7 separate regions of the Homo sapiens genome follow, and regions 1, 2, 3, 4, 5 and 7 are each linked to region 6. The links are contacts of gene promoters, found by promoter capture Hi-C in blood cells and fetal thymus (Javierre and others, 2016). All regions are on one chromosome and are shown on one strand. Each heading gives the region's core, a stretch centred on a gene start or on the middle of the fragment in contact. The rest is flanking DNA. Distances are from core to core; before and after follow the strand shown. Region 1 has its middle 23 kb from the start of LINC01014. Region 2 overlaps LOC105374235 (a long non-coding RNA gene). Region 3 overlaps LOC105374235 (a long non-coding RNA gene). Region 4 holds the start of ZMAT3 (zinc finger matrin-type 3). Region 5 holds the start of PIK3CA (phosphatidylinositol-4,5-bisphosphate 3-kinase catalytic subunit alpha). Region 6 holds the start of TBL1XR1 (TBL1X/Y related 1). Region 7 overlaps LOC105374235 (a long non-coding RNA gene).

What was found. Contacts are between HindIII fragments. The CHiCAGO score rates a contact against its expected background, and 5 or more counts as called.
Region 1: a contact is called between a fragment that was not itself captured here and the fragment with the promoter of TBL1XR1 in region 6, in 1 of 17 cell types (erythroblasts). The highest score is 5.3, in erythroblasts.
Region 2: a contact is called between a fragment that was not itself captured here and the fragment with the promoter of TBL1XR1 in region 6, in 2 of 17 cell types (endothelial precursors and megakaryocytes). The highest score is 6.4, in endothelial precursors.
Region 3: a contact is called between a fragment that was not itself captured here and the fragment with the promoter of TBL1XR1 in region 6, in 1 of 17 cell types (endothelial precursors). The highest score is 6.2, in endothelial precursors.
Region 4: the fragment with the promoter of ZMAT3 here is called in contact with the fragment with the promoter of TBL1XR1 in region 6 in 1 of 17 cell types (fetal thymus); the score reaches 6.1 in fetal thymus.
Region 5: the fragment with the promoter of PIK3CA here is called in contact with the fragment with the promoter of TBL1XR1 in region 6 in 7 of 17 cell types (fetal thymus, non-activated CD4 T cells, total CD4 T cells and 4 more); the score reaches 10.9 in fetal thymus.
Region 7: a fragment that was not itself captured here is called in contact with the fragment with the promoter of TBL1XR1 in region 6 in 1 of 17 cell types (endothelial precursors); the score reaches 5.3 in endothelial precursors.

What each region holds. Positions count from the first base shown.
Region 1 is chr3:178,394,520-178,397,219 of GRCh38, forward strand. No RefSeq gene overlaps it. Among named protein-coding and RNA genes, the nearest start is that of LINC01014, 23 kb to the right of the region's middle. The HindIII fragment of the contact is 2,720 bases long and covers 1-2,688 here.
Region 2 is chr3:178,376,808-178,379,507 of GRCh38, forward strand. All of the region lies in intron 1 of LOC105374235 (a long non-coding RNA gene), which reads right to left. Among named protein-coding and RNA genes, the nearest start is that of LINC01014, 41 kb to the right of the region's middle. The HindIII fragment of the contact is 3,496 bases long and covers 1-2,700 here.
Region 3 is chr3:178,352,817-178,355,516 of GRCh38, forward strand. All of the region lies in intron 2 of LOC105374235 (a long non-coding RNA gene), which reads right to left. Among named protein-coding and RNA genes, the nearest start is that of LINC01014, 65 kb to the right of the region's middle. The HindIII fragment of the contact is 1,089 bases long and covers 772-1,860 here.
Region 4 is chr3:179,070,490-179,073,189 of GRCh38, forward strand. ZMAT3 (zinc finger matrin-type 3) reads right to left here and starts at 1,320. Exons shown (of 6, transcript NM_022470.4): 1 at 1,106-1,320. RefSeq lists silencers at 1,047-1,196, 1,337-1,746. The HindIII fragment of the contact is 9,531 bases long and covers 310-2,700 here.
Region 5 is chr3:179,147,045-179,149,744 of GRCh38, forward strand. It overlaps PIK3CA (phosphatidylinositol-4,5-bisphosphate 3-kinase catalytic subunit alpha), which reads left to right and starts at 1,313. Exons shown (of 21, transcript NM_006218.4): 1 at 1,313-1,559. PIK3CA-DT (PIK3CA divergent transcript) reads right to left here and starts at 929. Exons shown (of 3, transcript NR_125401.1): 1 at 872-929. RefSeq lists enhancers at 28-137, 748-867, 1,677-2,176 and silencers at 1,358-1,827, 1,888-1,937. The HindIII fragment of the contact is 3,906 bases long and covers 1-2,561 here.
Region 6 is chr3:177,196,200-177,198,899 of GRCh38, forward strand. It overlaps TBL1XR1 (TBL1X/Y related 1), which reads right to left and starts at 1,283. Exons shown (of 16, transcript NM_024665.7): 1 at 922-1,283. RefSeq lists silencers at 325-374, 855-954, 1,065-1,254, 1,495-1,874 and enhancers at 860-1,369, 1,370-1,877. The HindIII fragment of the contact is 6,955 bases long and covers 1-2,700 here.
Region 7 is chr3:178,336,485-178,339,184 of GRCh38, forward strand. All of the region lies in intron 2 of LOC105374235 (a long non-coding RNA gene), which reads right to left. Among named protein-coding and RNA genes, the nearest start is that of LINC01014, 81 kb to the right of the region's middle. The HindIII fragment of the contact is 316 bases long and covers 1,121-1,436 here.

The DNA of each region.
Region 1 (2,700 bases), core at 79-2,578, 1.2 Mb after region 6:
TGTTGGTAACAATGTAGAGCAGCTGGAACTCTTATATATTGCTGGTGGGAGTATAAATTGAAGAAATGCTTGGCAGTATCTACTAAAGCTAAGCTGTGCATATCTTTGACCCAGCTATTCTACTTTTAGATACAAACTTAACAAAATGCATAAGCATATTCCCCAAAAGACATGTCCAAGAATTTTCATAGCAGCACTATTTATAATATCCCCATATAGGAAGCTACTCAAATATCTAACAACAGTAGACTGAATAAATAAATAGTGGCATATTTAGACAATAAGTACTATTTAGCAGTGAGAATGAACTGTAACTATACACAAAAATACAGATATAAGTCACAAATATACAGCAAAAGAAGCCAGGCTCAAAAGATTGCAAAATTAATCTATGGTGTCACAATTCAAGATAGTGGTTACTCTTAGAAAGTTACCAAATGTAAGGAGACAGAAGAGACCTTCTGGGATCCAGGTGATGTTCTGTTTTTAATCCTGGTGCTGATCACATAAGTTTGTTCACTTTGTAAAAGTTTATTCTGCCATACACTATTGATCTCTGTGCTTTTTGTAGATATATTTCAATTAAAAGTTTACATCAAAACGTGTATGTGTTTATAAAGCAGAGTTGCCATTAGCTAGCCCAAGATAACAACTCCCATAGATTAAGAGCTGTAACAAAATCTCAGGGAGCATTCAATTCATCGGTTTGACATACACAACGAATACATTTTTGCCTATCAAATTACTAAACAAATATTAATTAAACACCTAATGCTATGCTAGTGGTAAAAACTTAAGGATAAGATATATTCCTAATTTCATGGTATTTACAAAATATTTACAATCCATTTTTGGGAGACAAGATTAGAGATAAAATAATAGCAGAGTCTGAAACTAAAAGCTAATCTGTATATGTCTTTTCTCCCTCACTGTGTGTGTCTTTTCTCCCTCACTTCCCCTCTTGAAATACACATTCTTTTAAGAGTGGGTTAATATTAATTTTGTGCAATCTTGAATCTTGGAAATTTTCAGCTGATTCCATTTGGGATGTTGCTCCAGCCACCAAGATATCTTTTGAGGATCATATCTCTTGCTCACAAAATATAATTACATTACTTGGAAATGGCAAGACTGGGTCCTGAAAATCTATCAACTCAGAGCAGTGAGGAGCAGAAATTATCTTATAATAGGATCCTATGATCTTATTACAGGTTCTCTGAAATAATCACCTTCTTAACCACCAATCAGATCAATGTTTTGCTGTCTCCTTGCCAAGTCTCACAAAAGACCGCCCTTATGTAAATTCCCGTAGCTTTGGCTTTCTCCTTCATGTCACAGGTTCTGCTCCTTCCAAAAACCCACTATGTCAGATTCCACTTCCATTTTGGTCAATAACATATATCCTGGTTTGGAAAGCCACTTTCACCAGGCTAGGCCATTGATTTATCCTGTTCTCAGCACGCATATACCATTCCTGTCCAACTCTTGATCTCCAGATGCCACCCACAGGTATTCTGATTCAATTATTCTAGAGCATGGACTGGGCTATCAGTATTTTTACACTATTTTTTCTCTCTTCTGTTTTGGGAACTCCAATTAGATGGATATTTGGCCAATTAAAGTTGTCCCCTATCTCACTAATGTAATACTCATATTTTTTCAATCTTTTAATACTGTTTATTATAGTTTCTATTTACACATGAATCATTAATCTTTCTTCTGCATTGTCTAATATGCTATTAATCTCATCCAATGTATTTTTTATATTAAACATTGTAATTTTTATCTTTGGACATTTATTTTGGATATTCTTTATATACTTTATATCGTGGTTTCTGAGGACACCCAACTCTGTCTCCTCAACTCAGGGACTTCCAGGCTTTGCCTGGTATCTTCTCTTCATGCTGCAGCATGGAAACTCTCTAGACAGTTACCTGGTGCAATCATAATGTTCACTTTATTTGCTTTTCCTCTCCCAGGTATAACTGTCCCATGCGGCCTAAGGTCCAATGTCTAAAAAATTTCTGTTTCAGAGATTTTTTCTGGGATTTTAGCTGTTTTAGGCAGAAGGGTAAATCCAGTCACAGTTTCCTCATCTTGGCTGATGGCAGAATATTTTTTTCACCTTGTTTGAGAAGTTTTACTATTATCTGCCCACATAGAGATGTGTTTCTTTTTAATCTCATTTTTCATGAATATTGTCTGTGGTCTCCAAATTTAATAGCGCATATTGTATGTAAATTTTTAAAATATTGGAATAAAACATAAATATAGTAAGTACAAAAATTCCAGGTATACAGCTTAATGTGTTGTCATGAAGTAAACATACGCATTTGACCAGCTTCCAGATCAAGAAATTTAAAAATCACCAACACTCCAGAAGCTCATCTGTGACCACCTCCTACCATCTGCCCTCAAAAGCAGTGACCATCTAGAATCTTAGTGTTGCAAAACATATTTTATCCCATTTTAAAATTTATATAAATGGAATCATAAACTATGTATTCTTCTATCTCTGCTTTTTTGGTTCAGCATTATATTTTAAGAACCATCGATGTAATTGCATATAGTTAGAGTTTTTAAAATTCTCACTGCTCTATTGTATTGCTACATACCAATATTTAATTATCCTTCTATTATGGTTGGATATTTGGGTACTTTTCACTATTATGAATAAGACTTCTACAAAGCTTATTTTGT
Region 2 (2,700 bases), core at 139-2,638, 1.2 Mb after region 6:
CTGAGAAAGCAAACTCAGGGTGGTGATTTATCAGGGCATACAGCACATTAATAGTGGAGCTAGGTCTCAAAATTAGATATTCAGATGTAAGGAAAGGTCATGTTGCTAATGTTCTGCACTTTTTTAAGAGTATTTGCATGCCTAAACACAGCCTTTTGCACCACTGTGTGTACTCATGTATCATTACGTGCCTGCATGCCTGTGAAGTAGTCGGTCAGAAGTCTTTCACATAGAGAAGAACAAGGAAACACACACCCTATTTTGGTAAAAAGGAAGAGATGATTGCTGCTTGAATGGGTACATGTGCTTAAATACAGACACATCACACAAAACTCTATCATATCACAGATTTACTTTCTAAAAACAGTTTTCTTACAAACTGATATTTGTATTGTTATGAAATATTTGTATTAAATTATGACCACAGTACAAGTACAGTCCTATGTACCTGTACACCAAGTTAATGCAAAAGAACTACCATCAATAATCCTAGATTTCCCTCTCCATTCACCAGGTTTCCATTAGCTATGGCAACCCAATTTAAGAACATATTGAATGGAAATGAATTAAATTCAACTAGAAAGAAGATAACGCTCTTTATATTTCTTATATTGTTACATCATTTTCATTGTTTCCTTAGGGATGGAGGATGAATAGCATTTGTTCAACATTTTCTAATACAAACATAACTTCAACATACAGTATCTGTTTCAACCCTCCCATTAACCAATTAAATTAAAAGGTAATTTTATTATTCCTGTTTCCCAGATAAAAATATCTGAGTCTCAAAGATGTTCAGTTACTTGTCTCAGACCTCATACTCCTAGATGCCATACCCAGAATCCCAACATAAGTGTCAATTCGTTTTTTTTCCTTTTTAATTTTTTTCTAATTTTTGCAGAAACATAGTAGTTGTATATATTTATGGGATACAAGAGATATTTTGATACAAGCATGCAGTGTGTAATAATCACATCAGGGTAAATAGGGTATTCATCACCTCAAGCATTTATCCTTTGTGTTACAAATGATTCAATCATACTCTTAGTTATTTCAAAATGAACACTTAAATTATTTTTGACTACAGTCCCCCTTTTGTGCTAGCAAATACTAGGTTTTATTCATTCTTTCTAATTTTTTTTATCCATTATCCGATAACTCTTAAATTAATGTGACTTCCTTTTTACCCTGCTACATGTCAGGAGTATCCCAGAAAGAAGAAGAAAGAAGGAAGCTGGACTGCAGGAATTGGGGAAGTAGGCATGACTCTTGTTCCTTGCCGAGTTCTCACTCCCACTGTTGAGCTACCTGTGTCATCCCAATCTTGTCATAAAACAAGGGAGTTTCTGCAGAACAAATCGAAATGGAAAGGAGATGCCAAGCACTCAGGAGGGATCTCTGTCAGGTCACTTAATATCCGGAACGAAAGCACAGGAGTGCCGGATCGAAGAGTTAATGAAGGTGGCTTTCATTGCCACAATAATCTTTATCACCTCCTCCCTTCAATAAAGATATATGCTTAGTAGAAAGTTTGCTTTATATACGAACAGTTTCAACACAACCCCTCATACCCACACTCTTCCTTCCATTCTTTCAACCAGATAATCACACCTACATTTTTTTGTATGGAAATTTTGAGGACACTCACTTGTTTCTGAGATGTTCCTATGTATTGAGGATAATTCTTTTTCACTTCCTAGAAAGGGCTTCCATCCCACTCAGAATAGCTCACAATATACTACTATGGTAGTGATGAGAGAGTGTAAGGTAGAGATCCAAATCTCAGAGACAGGCAAAGGAAAGTTCATATTCAACTTAGACCAAGAAGTTGAAGTGGGAGGATGGGAAGAGGGCAGAACACAATTGGAAAAGTTATGGGGTATTAATAGAAAGTGTCCCGAGTAAAACTCATGCACACATGCCCTAGGTCAAATTCCAAGAGAAAAAAAAAATACACTAGGAAAAATAAATCATTGGGAAAAAAATAGTTAAAAATGACCTCAATACGATGGCAATTTAGGGATGAAATAAAATCAAAAGTGGAAAGAGCTAGAAGGGCTTCATATACTACAAAACCTAAATTAGCTTTGTTTTGGAGAAAGTTTACTAACAGATGCCAGGTTCAACAGAAATGCCTCTGGCAATGGCAGAAACACTAACAAAAGAAATCTGCAGCTGAGAAACAAGCTGCCAGGTCATTAAACGAAGAGGCACGCGGCCGGGCGCGGTGGCTCACGCCTGTAATCCCAGCACTTTGGGAGGCCGAGATGGGCGGATCACCTGAGGTCAAGAGTTCGAGACCATCCTGGCTAACACGGTGAAACCCCGTCTCTACTAAAAATACAAAAACAAAATTAGCCGGGCGTGGTGGTGGGCGCCTGTAGTCCCAGCTACTCTGGAGGCTGAGGCAGGAGAATGGCGTGAACCCGGGAGGCGGAGCTTGCAGTGAGCCGAGATCGCGCCACTGCACTCCAGCCTGGGCAACAGAGGGAGACTGTTTCAAAAAAAAAAAAAAAAAAAAAAGGGCACACTACTTTTGAACCAGCACATTAGAAAAGACCGGTGTCTGTGCACTGGGACATTGCAGGAACTTTCCACATGAAATCTTCCTTTGTGAGATACGTAGAGCTGCCACACACCAAATTTCTGCTTTGGATCCTAGAACTGCAACAAAATAACAATAAAATACAACTGGTATAA
Region 3 (2,700 bases), core at 66-2,565, 1.2 Mb after region 6:
TCATTAGACTTTACCCTGCTCCCTCCTTAGACCCTGTTGTTAAAAAAAAAATCACAGAAGCATGGAAGCTATGCAGCATATGCAGGGGAAATAGTTGTGATAAAGTGTTGTCTTTTAAATTCCACAGGAAAAAAGCATAAACACTATGATTACTGGCATGCAAAACACATACACATTTTTAAAAAGATTAAAAGAGAATATTTAAATATTAACAGATGGGTTGTATAAAATTTTTTCAGAATTTGCTAAATTTTTAGTTGATTATATAGTCATTAAGTTTTAAAAATCACGTGTAAACACATTTAGATCTAAGATCATTTAGACTGAAGACTACTTGGGCTTCATAAAAAAAACTGTATAACTTGAATTCTTGCCAAAGGCTTCAAATTTAAAAGAGAAAAAAAAACTAAGTACATGTTTCTAATTATCTAATGATGTAGAATACCCTTACCAAATTATCACTTTACTTGCCTTAAATTTCTACCTTCAAATTGCCTATATTAGTCTAAATTTTAATATAAAATTAGTATATAAAATGCCTCTAATAAAATTTAGTCAATAAATTATAGTTGTTTTGTTTTGGTTTTGGCTTTACTCTTTTTTTTTTTTTTGGCTTTACTCTTACAGTGAAACTAGATATGCTAGCCAAGATGACAGGCATCATAGCTTCTATTCATATGGAGGCAATTAAAAGAATACAATTTATAAAATACTAGGAAACCACATGAATGCTAAACCATACAATACCATAAGAGAATAAGACAGTATCAAAGCTTTTTTCACAAACCCTCTCCCCATAAACTTCCATAGAGAGGAACAAAGCTAAGTGCCAGGGAGATTGTGTCCATCACCAACAGACATCTATTCAGTTGTATATTAACATTTTCATCCCTCTGTTTACATAATGGCCTGCCTGCTAGCTATGTTTGTGCTTATTTTTCTGAGATGTGTAATAAACATTATTAACTTTCTTACATATAGCAAGTTTTAAAAGGCAGTAAAAATACTGTCAGTTGTAGGAGGCAGTAGAGTATGATTACTGATACTGTTATTTTGATTTAGTAAACTGATTTCTGAATAGCCTATTTATAATAGAAGGGCCCAATTGTATAATAGGGTTACTAAATGCAAGCACAGTTAGAGAAAGGTAATATTTTTTAAAAAATGAGAGAAAGGTAAGATATAGTTTTGGAAAACTGGAAGATATAAAAGAAAAAATATAGCTAGGAGGCAACTATATTCACACAAGAGTTGTGAAGTCTTCCTGTGGGAAGGAAAATTGAAGAAGGCAATAAAAACAGACAGGGAAACCTATAAGAAAATATACTGGGCTTTGTCATGAATTACAAGCATTTGAACTTTGAGGAGTACTAGTGGCCCAACTTAAAAGGAGGATGAGGACAAAAGGGACATTTTTAAGGATAAAAATGAGAAGTTTGGCTATAGTCACACTAAATTTGTACTTTTTAGGAAATTTCAAGAAAAGTTTTCTTGTAGGTAGTTTGAACTAAAAGGCTGTAGCCTGATGGAAAGATTTGGCAAAGGATTAGGATTTGGGAACAATTGATTTATAGATGAAGATTTAAGACAGAAATAGAGGATAGCAGCTTCTACAAAATAAAGTTTGAGAATAGAGGGTCAAGAAATAAAGTTTGGATATTTCTCACGGTTGAGAGACGGAAGAAGAAAGGAGACCTGGTGATGGAGGGAAGATAAACCACAAAGAGATGAACCAAAAAGAGAAATTGGAATCATCTATATCAGTGAGAGTAAGAGGAAGGAAAAGTTTGGAAAGCAGTTGAAATTGCCAACAGAATCAGAATAGCACTGAGATGTCAAAAAGTAAGAGGACTAAGGAGAAGCTTTTAAATCTGACTGTAAGAACATCATAACAACATTGTAAATACTGGGCTTAATTCAATGGTAGAGGCAGAAGCAAGAGGAATGGGTGGTCAAAATGGATTTGTGTTGCTAAAAAAGAATGATACAAAGTATATCAACGCTACAAAGTACAATAAAATCTGTGAAAAGTCTGTATTTATTTAGATGAAAAGAATTAGATTTTTAATATATAAACATTGAGAGCAAGAAAAAGCAAAATAAAAATTGGTGCTTCTAAACAGAGGAAGATAAGTATGAGCATAATGTCCTTCAGAGGGGAATATGGGATCAGTACGAAGATTATGACAAGAATGGTTAGCTTCAGAGGGAAAGGGCCATTGAGACATAAAAACAAGGACGTATAACGGGGCTTAGAAAAAGACTATGCTTTCAAAAACAAAACAAAACAAAACAAAAAGGCCAGAGAGTTGTCCAATGTCAATAACGACAAAGATAGAATTGAGGGATAAAGAAGCGTACCCACCAAAAAGAATGTAAAAAATCTGTCATGTAGCACTAATGAAATGCAAGTGCATTGACTGTTCAAGGACCAAATTCACATCTTGTTTCAGCTAGGAAAACAGGGAAAAGTATGATGGGGGATGAATATGTGCAAAGACAAAGGGAGAAGTATAACAGGGCCTGAATTCAGAGTATGATAAGAAATTCAGTGTGGTAGGAGCATAAGCGAGTGTCAGAACATGATGTATTCAGGGAAGAAACAAATGATAACTTCATTAAGAATGATTCTAGGATAACAGTGAAAATCACTTTTGTTACTTGCCCTAAAAAAGAACACCTTTGAGAGCTAAGTCACCT
Region 4 (2,700 bases), core at 70-2,569, 1.9 Mb after region 6:
TGTATGACAATTGCATCAAATATTAGTACATTTGCAAACAAAAATTAGTATAAAATATAAATCTTAAAATGAATAAAACCAAGTCTTCAGTGAATGCATGAATGATGGAATACAGAGACCCAAAACATGCAACTCAGATCTGTTCAACTGTTGCATTGGTTTAAAAGGGACTAATTTGAAGACTGGCATAAATATTCTTCAAATCTTAAAAACCAGTCACTTTGATGCTTGCGATGGCATAAATGAAGGATTTATGCTGGTTAATGTCCTGGTTTGGAAAGGAGCTAAGACGACATTAAAGAAAATCAAAGCTTCACAAGGTACCCTGTTTAAAGAAAATTAATTGTCATAGCATACTTAGTTTTAATGATTGGACTGGGGCCTACTCTTCACATACTGTGTTAAAGACAATCTCTTGTCTCATTTGGAGAAATCTACAGAGGAAAGAGAATAGAATAAAGGAACAGGTTAGGAGCACCTCAGCAAACTAGGTAAGTCTGTAATTGGGAATTCTGGAAATGAGGGAAAGGCAGCGAGCATTACTCAGAGGTCATCAGAACGCAGCAAGAAGGAATGAGAGGGAGAAAAGTTAAAAAAAATAATAATAATAATCACTTGAGGCAAGGTGTATCCTATAAAGAAGGCTCAAAAGAACGCAGAAAACTGGGGAAGAGGCCTTGGTGAATTGGCGAATGTTTTTCAGTCTCCGCTGTGACGGTTCCTAATCCTAGAGAACTGTTTACAGATTTGAATCAAAGCTACAGACAGTTCAGCGTCGCCCACATCCACCTTACATTCCTAAGATGTGCATGCATACACACGAACCCACACACGCACCTCAACCCGGTATGGATGCCATCACGAAGGATGGAATCCCCCGACTCCCACGGGGCGGGGGCAACTGAGAGGGCCAAGGCAGCTGCACGCACAGATGATCCACCTGGTCCACGTGAAATGCCTGAAACAAGCAAACTGATAAATAGAAGCAGCGCAAGCCCTGTCACGTGGAGGGCAGATGGAAAGAGCATCGGAAAGGAACCGCTAGTCCCCGGCGCTCCAGGGGCTCGTCCTGAAAGCTCCGCGGCTCCCAATCGCCCGCACTTACCGGAACCCCCGGGACGCGCCGGCAGTCTCCGCGCCGCGTCCGCCCGGGACGCCCGCGACGCCCGCCCTGCGCGCCCGGCTCGGCCCAGCTCGACCCAGCCTCTTCTCGGAGCAACTTTCTCCGCCGGCCGCCGCCGAGCCCCCTCCGCAGCCGAAGGCTGACTGTCAAAAGTCAGTCCAACCCGACCCACAGGGAAACAGCTGCAGGAAGTGACTGCGGAACCGGGAGGCGGTGGAGGAGGAGACTGAGGGCGCCGGCTCGGCGTCGCCACTGCGCATGTGCTTGGCGGAGCAGGCCCGGCAGCGGTGGCAGCGGTAGCAGTGGCGGCTCCCGCATCCCCGGCGGGCGGCGCGTGGGTCAGGTGCCCTGGCCGCGAGCGCAGGGGCGCGGGGTTAGGCCGGCGTGGGGAACAAAGGCACGAGTGAGAGGCGGGAGGGTCCCGCCGCCAATCTCAGCAGACAGCCCCGAAGAGCAGTTCAGCAGATGCCCTGGAAAGTTAATCCTTGGTAGAAGCCTGGGCAGAGCTTTTGCAACTTTCATCTCCAGTCATTGGGATCCAAACATTGTTCATTCTGTTCCTCCCTTAGCCTGCTGGTTGGCGGTTAAGGCGGCTGAGTGGATCCTTTAAACTGCTGCAACAGAACCTTTAAACTGCTGCTCTCCCCACTTCCGCCCCAGGATGGAGGAAGAAGAGCGTGGCTGCCTGCCCAGTATCGGCCTCCCTCACACAAAACGCCCCCACCCACCCACACACACACCTTCCCTCCCCTACACGAAAGTGAGCAGGAGATAGAGGAGACTTTCTCCTGACCCCCAGAGGCTCACCTGCAAGACAGGAAGGACCAGGAAAAGAGTGGCCAACGCTAGGATGTCACATCCTTCATAACCAACCTGGACATCTTCAATGTTAACACTGAGTGATGAGCTGAGGAAATTCCGGCTCTAAACTTATAGCGTAAATTAACTCGTATGAAGATCTGCTGGGGTATTATTTTTGTGTGTGGCAAACGATAACAAATATACTACTTTAAGAGTACAGGCCGGGCGCGGTGGCTCACGCCTGTAATCCCAACACTTTGGGAGGCCGAGGCGGGTGGATCACGGGGTCAGGAGATCGAGACCATCCTGGCTAACACGGTGAAACCCAATCTCTACTAAAAATACAAAAATATTAGCCAGGCGTGGTGGTGGGCGCCTGTAGTCCCAGCTACTCGGGAGGCTGAGGCAGGAGAATGGCGTGAACCCGGGAGGCGGAGCTTGCAGTGAGCCGAGATCGCGCCGCTGCACTCCAGCCTGGGTGACAGAGCGAGACTCCGTCTCAAAAAAAAAAAAAAAAAAAGTACAGTTCAGTGGCATTAAGTACATTTGCATTATTGTGTGGTTATTTTTTAAAACACGAATTAAAATGCCAAGGAGATCTAAGTATAGTAAGATGTGCCCTATTAGTAGGGAAACAACTGCAGGAAATCAAGGCTGTTTCTTTGGCTGAAAAATGCACCAATCCAATACCAACAACAACAAACCATAAAAGACTTCATAAGTACAATGAATATGAAGTACAAACATATACACACAGTGTACACCAGCCATTTGGG
Region 5 (2,700 bases), core at 63-2,562, 2.0 Mb after region 6:
AAAAGAAAGAAATACAGTCAAGTGAAACTACGACCACAAAGAGGAACAGATCCATCTCATTTACCATTGGGGTATGGACGGACGTGCGGTGTTCGAGAAGACTGTTATTGGTCAGAGTTTTGCTCTAGAGGACAAGTAGGACTGTAACATCTCTAGGATGGGTCACTTCCCAAGCCCTCTATTACTTAAAAATTCAAGGAGGAACCGATGCTGGAGTACTTGTATCTCAGACTTCTAATCACTGCTCCTACGCTTTTCCAATATTACAACAAAAGACCAGTAGGGGGAGAAAAACGCACAGTACCGAACCCTTATCAGTAGTAATCTCAAAAGTCAACAGATTGATTTACTCTCAAGCAAACAGACTTCTAAGGTACGCAGCACCAAGACACTACCTTGAATCAAATCTATAGCCTATATGACATTTCTGAAGTCTCTGTTGGCATTACGCGAAAAATCCCCCACGTCTTCTGAATAGTTAGAATTGAATCCTACAAGCTGCTTCGAATCAGAATTCGATTTAAAAAAAAAAATGAGGGCATAGCAAAAGGTCTCCACGAAGTGAGTCAAAGGACTGCAGAGGGCTGTGACAGTGCATTCCGCCTTCGGGATGGTATACAACTTAAACCATGTCGGCAGAAGAACGCACAGCAACGCTTTGTAAAAAGCATTCTTTCTATTATAGAATCCATAACCACGCTGGTTAGCCACTGACAGCGGCGGTTAGCCACCGCACCTCCTCTCACCCCCGAACTAATCTCGTTTCCTCTATGGGTGTAAAAGTGAAATAACCCACTTGCTCCCAATATTCCTTTCTATATCTCTACCCCAGCTCGCCTGCTGCTCGTAGAAACAAATATACTACACGTACGCTGTCCTAGGATGACACAACACCCTCACTACTGCAGAAGACGGATCATTAAACAAACGTCAGAAGAGCAGCCCCAACTGTACATAAACTTCGGGCGGAAAAGCAAGACGCAGGCGCAGTAGCACATATTGTTACCCTATTTGCCCACTCCCTGCTCCTCCTCGCCTCAATTTCGCTTCCGCTTCTTTGCGCATCTGCTTCCGGGGGATTGTAGGCTCTGCCCCTCCTCAGCTCTTACCCTCTTCTGCCGGAGGAGGGGGGGGGCCGAGGGGGTGGGGAAGAGTTCGTTGTTTGTTTACACGATGTGAGCGGAAAAAGAGACCAATAAAGTTTATTCTGGAAACAAAAGGAAAAAAAAACAGGGGCGACGGAGAAAGGAGTCGGGGGCGGGGGCGTGTGGCGGGGGCTAGCGAGGAGAGGGAGCGAGAAGTAGAAAGCGGCAGTTCCGGTGCCGCCGCTGCGGCCGCTGAGGTGTCGGGCTGCTGCTGCCGCGGCCGCTGGGACTGGGGCTGGGGCCGCCGGCGAGGCAGGGCTCGGGCCCGGCCGGGCAGCTCCGGAGCGGCGGGGGAGAGGGGCCGGGAGGCGGGGGCCGTGCCGCCCGCTCTCCTCTCCCTCGGCGCCGCCGCCGCCGCCCGCGGGGCTGGGACCCGATGCGGTTAGAGCCGCGGAGCCTGGAAGAGCCCCGAGCGTGAGTAGAGCGCGGACTGGCCGGTAGCGGGTGCGGTGGGAATGGGGACCGGGTGGGTGCCGGAGACTCCCGGGCGCGCCCGCCGTGTTGGGCGGAGGCTACGGGCTGGTCGTCTCCCAGCGTCGGCCCGCGGCGGAGTTCGCCTGCGATCGCCGCACCCTCTCCCTCGCCTGCCTCTGGCCTCTCCTAGCTGCAGAGGCGAGGGCTCGCCGCTCCCTCTCCTTTCTCTCTGGCTGCCGCCTCGCTCTTCCTTTGCTTCTACTCCCAGTTTTGGGGACGGGGCGGCTGGAGGTTGAGGAAGTGCGCCCAGGGCCGCCGCCCCGGCCGCGGTGGCTCTGTCTCCCGCGCCCTGCACGCCCACCCAGCCCGCGGGTGGAGGGGCTGCCGCGAGGACTGCGGCTCAAGGGACGCGGGCGCGAAACCGCGAGCTTTTCTTGAGGGGCTGTCACGCCCGAGGACTCCGGCCCCGCCAGCCTGGCGGCCCTGCGTTTGCCTCTTACTGGGTTTAAATCGCCCGGCAGGGGTATGGAAGGAACACCGCTCCCCTCACCCCCGCCAGCTCCCCTCCCACCCTTCCTTTCGAGGTTGTTTTTTCCTTTTAGCTGAGACAAACGCTTAGATCTTTCATTCATAGACCTGAGACACTGACTCATGTGACTTGTCTCTTTACTAAGTGTATTATGTGATGCCTGTTCCATGGCTCTTAAGTGGCTCGGAAAGGTAGGGTAGGGCCCGGGATTGGGCTATGTAAACACCAGACGTTCAGCCGGCGTGTTTTTGACCTCGGCTCGAGGGGTTTATTTTAGGATGCTAAAGGAATAGTGATGGTGGCCAACCGTGTTACCAGACTTGGGAATCGAAAGCTATTTTTTTATGTCAATAATTGAGACTGTTTACATGGTTAAATAAAGGGTAGGGTAAAGGGAGCGCAACAAGAGGGTCTTTCTAGAAAACAGTCTGCATATTCTTTAATGAATTAGAGTTGTGATTTCATCTTGGTGAAGCTTCCTCATTCCAGCACTGCGCCTTTGTGCACATGCAGGACCTGGGTTTTCGGAACGATGTTTTGAATCATAGTTTGTGTGGCCGGGGAGAACCCCTTAGAATACTTGGGTAGGTAAATTCCAGGTTATCTCAGGGG
Region 6 (2,700 bases), core at 33-2,532:
AATATTCCACTTAAATAAAAGTCTGCTTCTGTTCAAAAAATTAAATCGGTTGCAAAGAGGAAGTTACCGAGAAACCACCCTCACAACGTGGCCTTTACACTGTCAGAAAATAACGTGACTCTGTGCCACCCAAAACTTACCAGGAAGCTGGCAATAACTTTGCCAATTCTACACTCCTGAACCCAACTTCAAAGAGCCTCCACCAAATACCTCCTTAAGACGATAAAAAGCACTAAGTTACAAATAAACACGTCCCGGAGCAAGGCCCGGCTGCCGCGCGCCCCTCCCCCGGCCGGCGCCCCCGCCCCGGACGCGCGGCCCCAACAGCCGCCCGCAGCCCCCAGCACGCCGGCCGGGGTCGCCGCGCCCGGGCCGGGGACGCGCCCGGGGAGGGGAGATTTCCATTGCCGCCCGAGGTTTCACAAAATAGCATGCACCGAAAAGCTCCTTCTCCTCTGCTAAAAATAGGCTATAAAGGAGTCGGCCTCATGATGGCTCCTTGATTCAATTTGCTGCAAATCCTTTCCTGAAAGCCTCCCCCCCCAAACACACACGCACAAAAAGGGGGTGTAAATGCACGAAGGGAGGAAGAGGGGGAGAAGGCCGAGGTGCACATTTTCGGGGACAACATAATTAGGGTGAGGATCCCCCGAGACCGGGAAAGGGTAGGGGGGTGGGCAGGCACGTGAGCATTTCAAAGAAACCTGAGAGAGGAAAACGGGGGGATGGGGGCGCCCCAAGTGCCCTCCCTGCCTTCCCTTCCCCCACGCAAGCCCAGTTCCCCCAAGGGCCAAGTTGAAAAATGCATGTTCCACTCGCGCCCATCCCCCCGCGGCCCAGCGCCCCCGGCCGCCTCTGGCCCGCGCCCCCCGCCCAGGCCCCCGGCCGCCCCCACTCCAGGGTCCGGCCCCCAGCGCTTACCTGGAAACGGTGGCCTCCAACGCCGCTCCCCCCTCCCGGGAATGGAGGCACAAGGAAATTCCCCTCCTCGCCGCCGCCGCCACCGCCTCCAACCACCCCCAAAATAACCCCTCCGGGGGGTGAGAGGCAATTATAACCCCAGCGAGCGGAGGGCGCGGGGGATGGGCGCCGGGCGGGCGGGGGCGGGGAGCGCGGCGCGGGTCCCCAGGTGGCGAGCGGAGGTGCTCCCGCCGCGGGGGGAGGGGCGGGGGCGCACGCGGCCGGCGGCGGGGGGAGGCGGCGCGCGGGGGAAGGGCGCGAGCGGGGAGAGGAATTGAGGCAGAAGGTAAAAGCTGTTACTAAGGGAAAGAGCCAAACGGTTCGGAGCAGCCAACGGCTCAGACACTCAACACTGGGGAGAGAGGAATGGGGACCAGCCAGGCACAAATGAGCTCGCGAGGCCCGCGGCGGCGGCGGCGGCGGCGGCCGCGCAGCAAAACAAACCCGAGCGGCCTGCGCCGGGCGGGCGGGCGAGCGGGCGGGCGGGCGCGCGGGGGAGGGGCCGGCGGGGGAGGGGCGCCGCGGACGCCGGGAGGCGGCGGCGGCGCGGCGGGGGGGCTCCAGCGGCCGCGCTCCTCTCCTTCCCGGCCCGCTCTGGCGGCACTGGGGGCTGGGCTGTGCGGCGCATTCTTTTAAAAATCAGGCGAGCCCCGCGGGCACTCGAAGGCGCCTCGGGGCCCCGGGCCGCCCGCCCCGCCCCCACCGCCGCGGGCCGGCCTGGGTGTGCTCGGGTGTGGGCCGCTGGGCCCGAGACGGGTGGGGGCGGGGAGGCCCGCGCGGTGGCCGGGGTGGAGCCGCCGGCGAAGTTTCCCCAAGGACGCCGCGGGCTCCCGCGTGTCCGGGGGGCGGCCCGGCGGCGTTGGGGGCTGGGCGCACACGCGGCGGGCATGTGGGGGAGTGCGGCGCGGCATCATATGGACATTTGTTTGTGAAAATCTCTGTGAACACCTTTGTGTGCGTAAATACATATGGTTCTCCGAAGCGTACCTGGAAAGGTGCTTTATCTGTAATAAGCGACTTTCAAAATGTGATCCAGAGCACGGGATCTGGAGAGAAAACACGCACACAAGAAAAGGTTTTTGATACTAAACACAAAGCTGTAATTGAAGTATTTATGCCCAAATGTACTGTGAATCAAGCATATGGTGGTATTTATCATCTGGTGGGTCTGTTTGAAAGGTTTGCTCGATCAGTTCTTATTTCACAAAAATAAAATAATGTAACTAAATGTTTACTAAATATATACCTGCACAGTGGCATCCACAGTAGAAGTTTATCCACTTTGTGTACTTTTTGCATGTGTGAAGCACAGCAAGGCGGTTTATAAAGTATAACTTAGATGAGTGATAATGTGGCAGTATGGTTGAGGGAGGGTTGTTTTTAAAGAAGGGAGGCACCTCACAGGTTTTAAAGCAAATGGGGTGGTAATCTTTCTAAGACTTTCAGAAAGATGGGGTAGGGTGCTTTTTAGAGCTTTGTATAAGCTCAGGACTGGAGAAGCAGCCACCCTTTTACATTAAGATACGACTTGAAACCTTTTTGTTATTTCGCTTATTACTGCCTTCAAAGCAAAATAATGTTTGCAGCTTTCTTAAAGGTGAAGGGTTCTGTTTTCCTACTTTCATCAGAATATTTGAAAATAGATGTAGTGATCACTTTAAAGCAACCATCATTTCCTCTCAATATCAGAAACCTGAAGTTTTGCGACACACACACACACACACACACACACACACACAC
Region 7 (2,700 bases), core at 29-2,528, 1.1 Mb after region 6:
TACACAATTTTCAGTTTGTGTCATAAACAACAGGTTCAAGAGTCAGCCAGTGACAGGCTGAGTTAAACCAGGAGACTTGGGGTTCACCTTCTCTGTGCCTCAGCTTTCTGAGTACCTTCCTTTATTCTCTGGTAGCCTTGGCTGTTTGATCTCCCTTGATGGCCAGAAGGACCGGGTTCTCTATCACAGATTTGCATTTGTTTTTGCTTTCAAGGCAATGCCTATGGCCACTGTCAGAGAAAAGTCACAAAATCCAGGGAACTCATTTTATGCCAGTCACTTGCTACAAGTTTCTACTCCAATCCCAAATCTACCACCACTGTTCAACCCCTAGAGTCCTCTGTTAGATTCTATTGTTGCAGATTTGTTTTTCAAATTTTATAGCTGTTATTTATAGAAGAAATTGGCCTTTTAGGCACCCACTCTTCCAAGCCAGAAGGCCAAATTCTCATTAATTTCTTTGTTTCCCTTCCTCTTGAAGGAAGGGCCTGAGAATCATTTAACTCCAGTTATCCACTTCCAAAAGCATACGCTGCTAAGTCTTACATTTTAATTATCTTGATGTTTTAAACTCCACATTACATCATTCTTATTGTGTTATGCTTTCAATATTAATTCAGCTCCACAATACATCTTTCTTATTGTTTTATACTTTCAATATTAGTTCACCTTTACTTTTCTATGTACTTTTCTTGATTCACTACACTTCTTTCTATATTTCTGAGCTCTATCTTAGCTTATTTTCTTCTGCCTGAAAAAAAATTATTAGCATTTTCTTCAGTGATGGTACACTGAAAAATTTTCTCATTTTGTTTGTCAGAAAGTGTCTTTATTTTACTCTCACTCTTCAAGAATATTTTCAATAAATTATAGTTACAGGTTTGCAATTATTTCATTTCCCCATTTTGACAATACCATTTATTTTCCTTCCTGTCTTTATTATTTCTGTTGAAAATTTGGCTTTCATTCTAATTGTTGTTCCCTGAAAATAATTTATTCATATAATCTATATTAATATTTTTTCTTCAAATTTAGCTTCAATACTGCTATGATCATAAGCCTGCATGTGACTTTCTTTTAAATGTTTCTACTTGGGATTTGTAGGATTTGTAGGCTTCTAAGCTTGATGCTTTTCCTCAATTAAAAACAAATTATTTATCATTACATTCTCTAATATCATTTCTGTCCTATCCTCTCTTCCTTTTTATTTTGGGATTAGATTATATATAAGCAGACCTATACACTGTCTCTCTTTTTTTCTCTTTATATTTTCTAGACTTATATATAATTTGTTTTGGTATTCGAAATTTATTTCTAATCTGTAATCTAGTTCACAAATTCTCTCTTGTCTGCCGTTAATTCCACTATTTGAGTTTTTCACTTTGGTGTTTAAGTTTCTCAATTACAGAATTTCAATGTGGTTCTTCCCAGTTTCAAGCTTAAATTATTTTATTCCTGCCCTTAACTTCTTAATTTAGTGAGCATACTTATTTTAAAACCTGGAATTGACAACTTCCCCCAGTGGTTCTGTTTCTGTTATTATCATTATTGATATTACTTTCCAGTCATGTTATTTTTACAACTTATATAACTAGCATTTTGATTTCATGTTTTAAATATTGTATTTTCATTTTTAAAATGTCAGCCTTAATTTTAGATACAGGGGTACATGTACATATTTGTTACATGGGAATATTGCCTGATGCTGAGATTTGGAGTATGGATCCTGTCATCCTGGTACTAAGTATAGTACTCAATGGGTATTTTTTGTAACCCAGCCCCTCTCCCTCCATCCTCTAGTAGTCTGTAATGTTTATTGTTTCCATACTTATGTCATGTGTGCTAGTATTTTCAAAACTTTGTAGATAGTTTGAGTAATAGAAACATTTTGTTTTTCCCGAAAGTATTTAAATTTTTATATTCAGAGTACCTAGCCATCTGGGATTACTCAAAGCTGAGATGCCCACAAAGCTGAACTGCAGTCCCTGCAGAAGCCATCTTCTTCTGTATCACAGTTACTCTCTAGTGAGGCTTTTTAGAGTTCCATCTCAGTGTAAGGAAGATGCATCAGGACTTTTACTGGTGTGCCTTGTACCCAGAGGTTTTTACTCTAGCCTTGAGGCTATCAAATGAGCCATCCATCCTTTTATTCTTTCAGCTCCCTCATAGATTTTTTTACTTACTCCCAGGTGAAATATAACTCAAATTCCTCTGATTTTCAACCTTTCCACACATCCCAGACTGATAATTCCTCACTATTATGCTATCTCCCTATTACTTTCAAGCAAAATTTTTTATATATCGACAAGATTTTCAATTGACTTCTAGGGGATAGTTGGACCAAGTTACCCAATCTGCCATTATAGGAAGCAGAAATGTAAAGTTAAACATTTTTTTAAAAATTTATACTATAAGAAGACAACTATTATTTAACTATAATAATATTATTTGATGGGGTAATTACAGCAAGTTAGGGAAATAATCAAATACCACCTGCGATAGTCAAAATAATCAAATCTATGCACTTTATCAAAATTTTTAAATTAGCATAATTTACTGTTTTTATAAGAAAGGATTTTTTTCAAAGCATTATTTATACACACTACAGAGTATTCTTTATTTAGACATATCATGACTTACCCTACTGTATCCCTCTTTCACAATAAATATCATTCTGCACAAATCATTATATTTGCTAGC